Linked DNA regions of Homo sapiens: all the other regions are linked to region 2. The links are contacts of gene promoters, found by promoter capture Hi-C in blood cells and fetal thymus (Javierre and others, 2016). All regions are on one chromosome and are shown on one strand. Each heading gives the region's core, a stretch centred on a gene start or on the middle of the fragment in contact. The rest is flanking DNA. Distances are from core to core; before and after follow the strand shown.

Region 1 (3,203 bases), core at 394-2,893, 240 kb after region 2:
TTCTATAGTTTGTGTATTGGGAATGATAATTATATTTCCAACCAACAGCATGTAAGGGGGTTTGACATAGCTCCTGATGGGTATCACCCGTTCAGATATGAGGGTGATGTTGAATGTGGGTGTTTTGGTATTAGTGTGAAGGAGTTGATAGGTAGTGTTCCATATCCTTATTCCTGTCATAGCTGCAGCTAATTTTCATAGTTGAGGATGTTCTGGGGTAACAAAGGGATGAATCATTTTTGGTCTAGGAGGAGTAATGCCTGCATCCATCCATTTAAATAGGTAAGGGGACACCCATTGTCTCAGCCTGTATGACTGCCATCCATCCTCTACATAATCTAACAAATAATTAAACTCTGAGCATGAGGTATTTTTGCTGGAGCAATCTTGCCAATAATGCCCTTTTGGAGCCCAATCAATAACAATACCTGCGGCTAGACTTTGGAGCACAACGGCCTTAGGAGCATTACAATTATTCCATAAAATTGAAGTCACTATAAAAGGTCCCTTTGTAGGTTTCTTTAACCAAAAGAGAGGCTGGGCACAGTTGCTCACACTAGTAAACCCAGCACTTTGGGAGACCGAGGCGGGCAGATCACGAGGTCAGGAGTTCAAAACCAGCTTGGCCAACATGGTGAAACCCCTGCCTCAGCTTCCTGAGTGCTGGGATTATAGGCATGTGCCACCACGCGCAGCTAATTCTTGTATTTTTTCAGTAGAGACGAGGTTTCATCATGTTGCCCAGGCTGGTCTCGAGTACCTGACCTCAACCTGAGGTGATCCAACCACCTCAGCCTCCCAAAGTGCTGGGATTACAAGCATGAGTCACCGCACCCGGGCCCCAGTCACTTTAGAATAGCATGTTGCTTTGTATTCGGAGGGTCTCTCTGCAAATAGCCCATCAACACTGAGCGTGCCTGGAAAGACCTGGTTTTCAAATAACTGGCTTCGTCTGTGTAAAACGAGTCTTGTTGTATGCATTAAAAATTATCTTGGCTGGGCGTGGTGGCTCACGCCTTTAATCCCAGCATTTTGGGAGGCTCGTTCTGTTGCCAGGGAGGCTGCAAAAGGAGGATGCGGCTATTTCTGCTTCCATCATGGAAGGCTGGGATTCCACAGGCACAGAAAGGAAGGAGGGAGAGATGGGAATGTGACTGTCCTCCAGACACAGCCTCTGGCAGGATCGGATGTGGGAGAGTGAGGGTCCCACCCCAGCTGGGGTCTACCCAGGTCCATGTCTTGGACATGTTGAGAGTTTTTCTGGAAGGCAGGGATACAGTGTGGTCCAAAAACACACAAATGCCCCTACTGGCCCAGGGGTTGTCACAATAGACTGGAAGGGTGACACATCCCAGGCGCTTGCCACCCATCACACGCACCTCCTACCCACTGGCATCCTTCCACCCCAGGCACACACAAAGCCTCAGTCCAGAGATCAACTCTGGACTCAGCTCTGAATTTGCATATCCTGTGTGTAGATTCATTCTTCATAACCTCTGCCCAGCCTAGCTTGTGTATCATTTTTTTTTCTCTATTAGGGGAGGAGCCCGTCCTGGCACTCCCATTGGCCTGTAGATTCACCTCCCCTGGGCAGGGCCCCAGGACCCAGGATAATATCTGTGCCTCCTGCCCAGAACCCTCCAAGCAGACACAATGGTAAGAATGGTGCCTGTCCTGCTGTCTCTGCTGCTGCTTCTGGGTCCTGCTGTCCCCCAGGAGAACCAAGATGGTGAGTGGGGAAAGCAAGGGATGGGTGCTGGAGAGGACTGGAAGGAGGTGAGGAACAGGACATGTGGCTGGGAGACAGGCTGGATGCAGCTGGGATACCCTGGCATACGGCAGGAATGGGTGCCCAAGGCTGTCAACTCCCTCAGCTCACACACTTCCAGGAGCATTCAGGGAGCCTCTGCGCTGGCCCGAAATAAGACCTTCAGGAATCTGAATCTAAAACCCCTAGTTTACAGTGAAAACAAAGACTCCAAAGACCAAGCGACCTGCTTGGGGTAGACAGTCAGGACGGAGTAGGAACCATATGCCTGGAGCTGCTTCTGCTCCTGTTCCTTCCCTCCTTCCGATGGCTGGGTACACCTGCCTGACGCTGAGGGAAAGAGAGAGCAGCCCCAAGGGGAAAGTGGGAAGGCAGGTTGGCTGGAGGGATGGTGCTAGAAGGAAACCCGTGCCCAAATCCCACACTCAGACACCACTGCAGTGGGTCTGGAAGGCGAGTGGCTGGAAGAGAAGAGAGTGGGAGCTCCGGGAGATCAAGAGTCACTCCTAGGATAAGGGAAGGAGGCTGTTTGTGGCATGAGAATGTGCAGGATAAAGACATGGAAGCGAATGGCTTCTCAGTTGTGTGAGTTTAAAATTCATGACATTTACAAATTGTCAGAAAAGGTGTTATATGTTTGTTATATAACAATCACTTTGGAATGTTAATCTGATTCTGTGCCAAAATCTGAATTACTCAGGGTTCTCCAGAGAAACAGAACTAATAGGTGGTACACATATACATATATATGTACGTACACATACATACATACACTGTATACACATGGATACACACACACATAGGAAGAGATTTACATATATGTATACAAAAGAGAGAGAGAGTAGAGATTTATTTTAAGAAATTGACTCACACTATTGGGAGGAGTAACAAGTCCTAAATCTTCAGAGCCGGCCAGCAGGCTGGAGACCCAGGGAAGAGTTGATGTCTTAGTCTTGATTCCAAGGGCAGACTGTAGGCAGAATTCTTTCCTCTTTAGGGGACATCTGAGGCTTTTTCTCTTAAGGCCTTCAACTGATTGGATGAAGCCCACCACTATGGAGAGTAATCCACTTTACTCAAGGTCTACTGATTTTTTTGTAAATTAAAAAAAAAACTGTGGGTGCATAGTATGTGTATATATTTATGGGGTACATGAGAGGTTTTGATTCAGGCATGCAATGTGAAATAATCACATCATCAAAAATGAGGTATCCATCCCTTCAAGCTTTTATCGTTTGTGTTACAGACAATCCAATTATACTTTTTTGGTTATTTTAGTTTTTAAAAGTATTTGATTATTTATTTATTTATTTATTTTTGAGACAGAGTCTCACTCTGTCACCCAGGCAGGAGTGCAGTGGCATGATCTCGGCTCACTGCAACCTCCGCCTCCCAGGTTCAAGCAATTTTCCTGCCTCAGTCTCCTGAGTAGCTA
Region 2 (2,959 bases), core at 295-2,794:
AGGCCGACATCAGAGAAACTGTGTTGCTGACTTAGTTGCAGCAGGAAATGACTGAAATGGGGTAACTGTCACTCACACACTCACACCTGTGCCCACACACGCACACACAGAGACCACATCCGCAGCAGGTGGGCCTGGCCAGACACCTATGGGACACTTATTGGAGGCCCAAGAATTAAAGTAAGGGGGTGACACCCAGGAGGCCTGGGAGGGGGAAAGCCCAGTGGCCTCATGGTCTCTCTCATCGAACTCCTAAGGGTCCTTCCATGGCCCTGGGCCCCCGAGGGTCAGGGAAAAGAGTGAGGCCGGGACCAGTGTGAGGAGGCCTCTCCCCTGCCTGAGCGTAGAGTCCATTCTCAACAGAGACAAAGCTGCCACGTGCAGGGATGGGTGTGGAGGCCCAGGCGGCAGGGCCCTGGGGCCGGTGTGCAGCGTGGGTGGGGAGTGACGCCCACCAGGACGGCCCCCCATGGGGGTGAGCTGTGTCCAAAGTAGCTGGGCGGCAGCTGGTGTTGATAGTGGCATAAGGGACGTGAAGAGCAGCCTGGGAGGCCTGGCTTGGTGCCTGCGCGGGGGAAGGAGGGTCAAGTGAGTCTGCACAGCTTGGGCCCAGCCCTGGCCCCCCTGCCCCTGCCCCTGTCACCTCATCCCCAAAGCAGGTCCCCTCCTCACCCATGCTCGTGCTCTCGGTGCCTGGGGGCTGGTGCGGGACGGCTGGAGCCTAGGGGCAGGGCTGGGAGAGAGCAAGGATGGTCAGAGCTCTGCAGGGCATGTGGCCATCCCAGTGTCAGGGGGACGTGGACAGGGACCAGGTCTCACCGGTGCTTATGTCGGCGCAGCAGATGAAGGAGGTAGACACAGCCAAAGAGGAGGACTCCTGAGACCCCCAAGATCCCGGCCAGGTCTGCCCGCAGAATGGGGGCAGGAGTCGGCGGGGCAGAGAGCCCTGGGCACGGAGACAAGAATCAGATGGGTGGCCAGTTCCCGAGCCCCTCCCTGCCCTCCTGGACCCCTCGCCCCGGCCCCACCTGGGTCTGAGCTGGGCGGGAGGCTCCCACAGGCCTCCCAGGAGCCCTCAGGGAAGGACGCAAACTTGCAGCAGAAGGTGGTGTTGGCGCAGGGGCTGCTGGCCCCAGAGCCTTCCAGGATGAGAGAGATGCTGCTCTGGGTTTCCCAGCGGGCCTGGCGAGCAGGGGCCCATTGCCGGATGCCACGTTCTGGGTGCAACACAGCCAGCGTGGTCCCCCCAGCACCGTTGGGGCCCCCCCAGCTCACAGTCACCAGGGAGATGGAGCCAGACCCCAGGAACCCACAACGGATGGTGAAGGACGAGAGCTCGGTGGCCTCCATCCGAACTTGAACCCACACCTCCGGGGTCCCTGTGGAACAGCAGCAAGGTCGGTGGGCTGTTGTCCTACATCACCCTCCCTGCAGCCCCTGCCCCTCTCTGGTGCCGGCACTCACCCGCAGTGACACACAAGGTCAGCAGCACCCAGGGCAGGACCAGGGTCCGGTGCCCCATGGCCCCCTCCAGTCCAGGTTCTGGGGGCTGCAGGGCCGGCACCTGTGCCTCTGTTCTCATCGCAGGAAGTCTTCATGTTGTCAGCAGCCAAACAGCCACTTCCTTCTCTCCTCTCACACCTTCCCCAGAGGTGGTGAGCACAAAGTGGCTGATTCCCTTCTTAAAGTGACAGTGAGGGCCTGCTCAGTCCCCAAGGCTGTGCTTCCAGGTAACAAGGCAGGGCGGCACAGGTGGGTGAGAACCCAGCCCTGGCTAGGCCTGGGGAGGCCAGGGGAGGGGCAGAGAAGCTGTCAGGGGCTAGAAGGACTCCCCTTCCCTGGACAGCAAGGGGTGCCGGGCTTCCCTAAGAAAGGGCTCTGTCCCGCCCCTCACCCAGCTAAGGAATCGGAGGAGAAAGCCCCTGGGAGTGGGAAGCCAGCAGGGAGGACCTGAGAGCCAGCCCAGCATGCATGACCCACTACCAATCTGATGTGGGTCCCACGCTTACACCTGCAATGCAGGCCTCCCCCACAACCCCCAGCCTGGCTCGCCCACTACCCACTCATACCTCCTGATCTACCCTGAACGCACCCCATACTGGGCTCTGCCCCAGGCGCTGTCTCCTCGTCATAGGTGATGGCAACTGGCTTCTGGCTGCTCGGGCCCAAAGCACAGCCACCAGTGCCTCTTCCCTTTCACTTCCAACGCACCAAGATTGTGTCAGCAAACAGCAGTCCTCTGCCCTAGCAGTGCAGAAGCCAGGAGTTGAACCCATGTCTCTCACCAGGTTAAGCTGCCTCGCTAAGTTTGGATGTGACCTCAGAAACAGAGGCTACTCCAGCAATACAAGATACTTTATTTTTCGGCTTCTACCTATGCCACCCAATCCCTTCACTGGGCCTAACTTAGTGAATCAAATTAAGTATATTTCCCTCCAAGTTGCCCCAGGATTCTGGGCTCCTTTGCACACTACAGGTTTTCTCTAAACGCCCTGGGTTTATCTATCCTTTGGTGAATTTTCAACTCTTCTTATTTCTCTGCCCTGTCCTGACCAAAAATCTTCAGTGCCTGTTTCTCTCTGCCATCCAAATCCCACACACATCTAGGGGTGAATCGGTGAATCTGCGCTGATGAGTGACACGTTTTGTGAATCCTTTCTAGGATCTCAGTATTTCATCCTATCCCGAGGGAAGGCTCTAAAGAGCTCAAGGAAGACCTCACGATGTCTATGTGTGAGAAGAAACCTTTCACCCCTTCACTATCACACCCCATCATCCAAGCACACACTCCTCTTTCATCCCATAAACCCCAGTCAGTGTCACCTGGAGTTATAAGGATGCGGTGACTTACCTAGTAACGGAAGACTCTCAGTAATCTGAAAAAGAAAAATCCCTTCACTTTATAACTGAGGAGATAACACCAACAAGTCACTTCCAGCAGAGCTCATGGCCACAGTGC
Region 3 (3,370 bases), core at 571-3,070, 150 kb before region 2:
TTTGTCTCGGGTTGGCCCCTCCTGTGGTTTGGGCAGAGCCCACATCTGGGTGGTCCTGGGTACTCACTAGGCTGCAGAAATGCTGGCGGCAGCAGCAAGGGCAGTAGGGGCAGCAGCAGGGGCCGACCCATGGCCTTGTTCTTCTCCAGGGGACGGGGAGACCAGCAGAGCCGTCCAGGCAGGAGAGGGGCCCTGTGGAGGGGCCGCCTGGGGGTTGAGGTGAGTGAGGAGAGCCGGGCTCAGGCTCCGAAGAGGGCTGTGGGGGCCAGGAGCCTTCCCCAAACCAGTGCACCTCCAGGGTGACCAGCACTTCCTTTATCCATCTGGCTTATTTTCCCCTATTGCAAAAGGGCCTCCCTTGTGGTCAGTGCCAAGTCAGCCCTGCCCAAAGGCCGCGGTCCCCGTCCTCCTGCCGAGGGGCTGGGCCTGACCTTGGGGGGCTGGGCCTGACCTTGGCTGGCTGGGCCCCTCCCACCTGGATCCCTGCAGACCCCACCTCACTCAGCCTCACTTCTCATCCTTCTCTCTGCCCAGGGCCAGCGCAGGCTCTTTCAGGGAGAGGAAAGGCAGGCCTGAATCTCTGTCCTTCTGCGCCCCAGATTCAGTCCTCAGAGAGGAGGAGAAGGAAGCCGGTGGAGGTCACAGGTGCTCAGCCCCCAGCCCAAGCAGAAGAGCCCCCAGCTTGTCCTCTGTCCCTCTCCCTCCCTGGCAGGGGCTCCCATGCAGTCCCCAGGCACCACCACGACCCAGCTGGCCTCTTCCTGCCCCAGGCCCTCTCTCGGTGCAGGCACCACGACCTTGCTCAAGGGGTGAGGGGGCTAATGGTCCCCTACACAGAGACTGGTCCTTCTGGAAGCCACCCCTTGACCCCCAAGACATGAGACTGGGTCTGCAGGCTCCCCTCTGACGTCCCGCCCTACACAGGAGGGGACAGGGCTCTGAGAAGCCCTGCCCCAGGCCACGTGACTTGCAGTAGTGGGTACAGGACTGGAGCCCCCTCAACCCAGATGTCTGGGCCTGGCTGAAGGGTGGAATCTCTGGGCCTCAACTTCTGAGTGCAGGACAGGAGGCTGTCCCTTCATACAGCCCCTCAGGTCATTCCCTCCACACACCTGAGCCCTTGGCTGATCCAGAAGCTTCCTTGGACACAGAAGAAAGTGAAGGCTCAGAGCAACACCCACCCCACACACAGTCCTGGGCCCATCTCTAACGGGGATCTGCCGGCCTTTGCCCGGGGGTGGTCACTGGAGCAGGGAGCTTTGGTGGTGCACAGGGCTCCCTCCGTAGGAGGCTCTGCCCACCCTCTCCAGGGTGAGGTGGCATCAGTTGAGGGGCCGTGGGGGAAGACAGGATTTCATCAGAGGAAGTGACATCAGCCTTCTTGAGACAGAAGCAGGCAGGGACGGGCCTCCCTTCTCTTAGTCTCTTCCCTGGTCCTAGTAGGCTCCTCTGTGCTTCCCAGGGCCAGCCAGGCCGGCCCGCCCTCCCTCCCTTTACAGGCCTGAGGAAACAGGTTCCCCATGCTCAGGAAACCCCTCCGTCTGAGCCAGGCCCTAAACACCTCATTCTCTGCTTCACAACATTCTGAGGTGACACATTATCTCCATTCAACCCACAGGGAAACTGAGGGACGGGGGCTTTGGGCTGAACTGGTCACAGCTGGAAAGATGGGCTGCAGAGAGGACAAGGGACCCCCTGGCTGTCTGGGCAGGGCCTCGAGAGGGTGGCCCGCCCCACCTGAGGACCTGGCTGAAAGGTCACCTGCTTACCAGGCTGTCCAATGTGGGGGCCACATAGAACTTATAGCCAACAGCCTCTGGGTAGCTCTGGAGGGCACATGCTGCCCAATGCTGCCACGTGCAGTCTCCTTAGATGCAACATGCATGTTTATGTCACTTTCAGGCCCTGGATCCAGCTGAACCCCCATGGGAGATTCCTTCTGTGTCAGGATTTCTGCTCTGGGATGGTGTGAGGTCTCCTGGATTTGTTCATCCTCCCTCCCCCAACAGCAGTGACAGAACCTGGGACTGAGCCTGGGGCTGTGGCTCTCTCACAGACAGGGCTTCTGAGAGGAGGAGGAGGGCCTGGAGGAGGGCATGATTCCAATGTGGGCAGAGCCTAAATGCAGCCCCTTAGTGCAGGTGCTCATGGGAGAGGCGTGGGAAGTCGTGTGTGGGGAGCAGGGGCAGGGAGGGGGTAAGTACCCTGCACCGCATTATGAGAACCACTGCTTGGATGTCCCCACATTCCCCCAACAAGTATCCTACTGTCCTCACTGGCCACATCCGTCCCTGCCCCCAGCCCCTCACCTCTCCTTGGCACCCACCGTTCCTGCTTTCCTCTGATCCCAATCGACATCCCATAGGCTTTGTGGAGTTCACAAGCCAACTGTAATATTCTCACAGTAATTCAAAGGACCTAGAATAGCCAAAAGGCCTTTACAAATGAAGAATGAAGGTGGAAGATTTATAATACCTGACTTCAAGACTTGCTGTAAAGCTTCTGTAATCAGGCTGTACTGTCCTCAAGGTACTAGAGTGTCCACAGACTGGAGTGTAGGGACGCGATCACCATCACTCCTGGGCTGAAGCAATTTGCTGACCTCAGCCTCCCAAGTAGTGAAGACCACAGGCACACACCACCACACACGGCTAATTTTTTTTTTTTTTTGAGAGATGGGGTCTCACTATGTTGTCTAGGCTGGTCTCAAGTTCCTGGGCTTAAGCAATCCTCCTGCCTCGGCCTCCCTCAGTGCTGGGATGACAGGTGTGAGCCACCTCACCAAGCCCCACTGGATTGCTGATATTCTGGCATCTTGGACCTCCAAGAGCAGAGAGAGGGACTGCCCCTGCCAGAGCCAGCCAGTTGTTAGAGCTAGCAAATGACCCCTCTGAGAGTGTCCCTTTTTTTTTCTGAAACAGTCTCACTCTGCTGCCAGGCTGGAGTGCAGTGGCACGGTCTCGGCTCACTGCAACCTCCACCCCTGGGTTCAAGCGATTCTCCTGCCTCAGCCTCCCAAGTTGCTGGGATTACAAGTGCGTGCCACCATGCCCAACTAATTTTTGTATTTTTAATAGAGACGGGGTTTCACCACGTTGGCCAAGATGGTCTCCATCTCCTGACCTTGTGATCTGCCCACCTCGGCCTCCCAAAGTGCTGGGATTACAGGCTTGAGCCACGGCTCCTGGCTGAGTGTGCCTTTCATATGCAAACCAGCTAATCCAGGGCCCCAACACTGAACCAGCTCTTCTAGCTGCCTCTCACCCTTCAGAAGGCAGTATTTCTCTGCCTTCATCATCCTGGGCCAGACACCAAATAACAAATGACAGCCTCTAATCCCCAGAGCCTGCTAACGTTATTCTAACTAGCC

The links. Contacts are between HindIII fragments. The CHiCAGO score rates a contact against its expected background, and 5 or more counts as called.
Region 1: the fragment with the promoter of AZGP1 here is called in contact with the fragment with the promoter of PVRIG in region 2 in 9 of 17 cell types (neutrophils, total CD4 T cells, non-activated CD4 T cells and 6 more); the score reaches 17.8 in neutrophils.
Region 3: a fragment that was not itself captured here is called in contact with the fragment with the promoter of PVRIG in region 2 in 1 of 17 cell types (activated CD4 T cells); the score reaches 5.6 in activated CD4 T cells.

The regions. Positions count from the first base shown.
Region 1 is chr7:99,974,471-99,977,673 of GRCh38, reverse strand. AZGP1 (alpha-2-glycoprotein 1, zinc-binding) reads left to right here and starts at 1,643. Exons shown (of 4, transcript NM_001185.4): 1 at 1,643-1,729. The coding sequence starts at 1,654. The HindIII fragment of the contact is 13,516 bases long and covers 1-2,995 here.
Region 2 is chr7:100,218,534-100,221,492 of GRCh38, reverse strand. It overlaps PVRIG (PVR related immunoglobulin domain containing), which reads right to left and starts at 1,544. Exons shown (of 5, transcript NM_001397246.1): 1 at 1,465-1,544; 2 at 1,029-1,379; 3 at 820-946; 4 at 673-733; 5 at 3-565. The coding sequence starts at 1,522. The coding sequence ends at 242. It also overlaps a transcript of STAG3 not described here and the pseudogene CASTOR3P. RefSeq lists enhancers at 1-4, 1,395-1,464, 1,525-1,654 and a silencer at 425-474. The HindIII fragment of the contact is 24,869 bases long and covers 1-2,959 here.
Region 3 is chr7:100,370,418-100,373,787 of GRCh38, reverse strand. PILRA (paired immunoglobin like type 2 receptor alpha) reads right to left here and starts at 301. Exons shown (of 7, transcript NM_013439.3): 1 at 68-301. The coding sequence starts at 131. RefSeq lists an enhancer at 2,633-3,370. The HindIII fragment of the contact is 1,363 bases long and covers 1,139-2,501 here.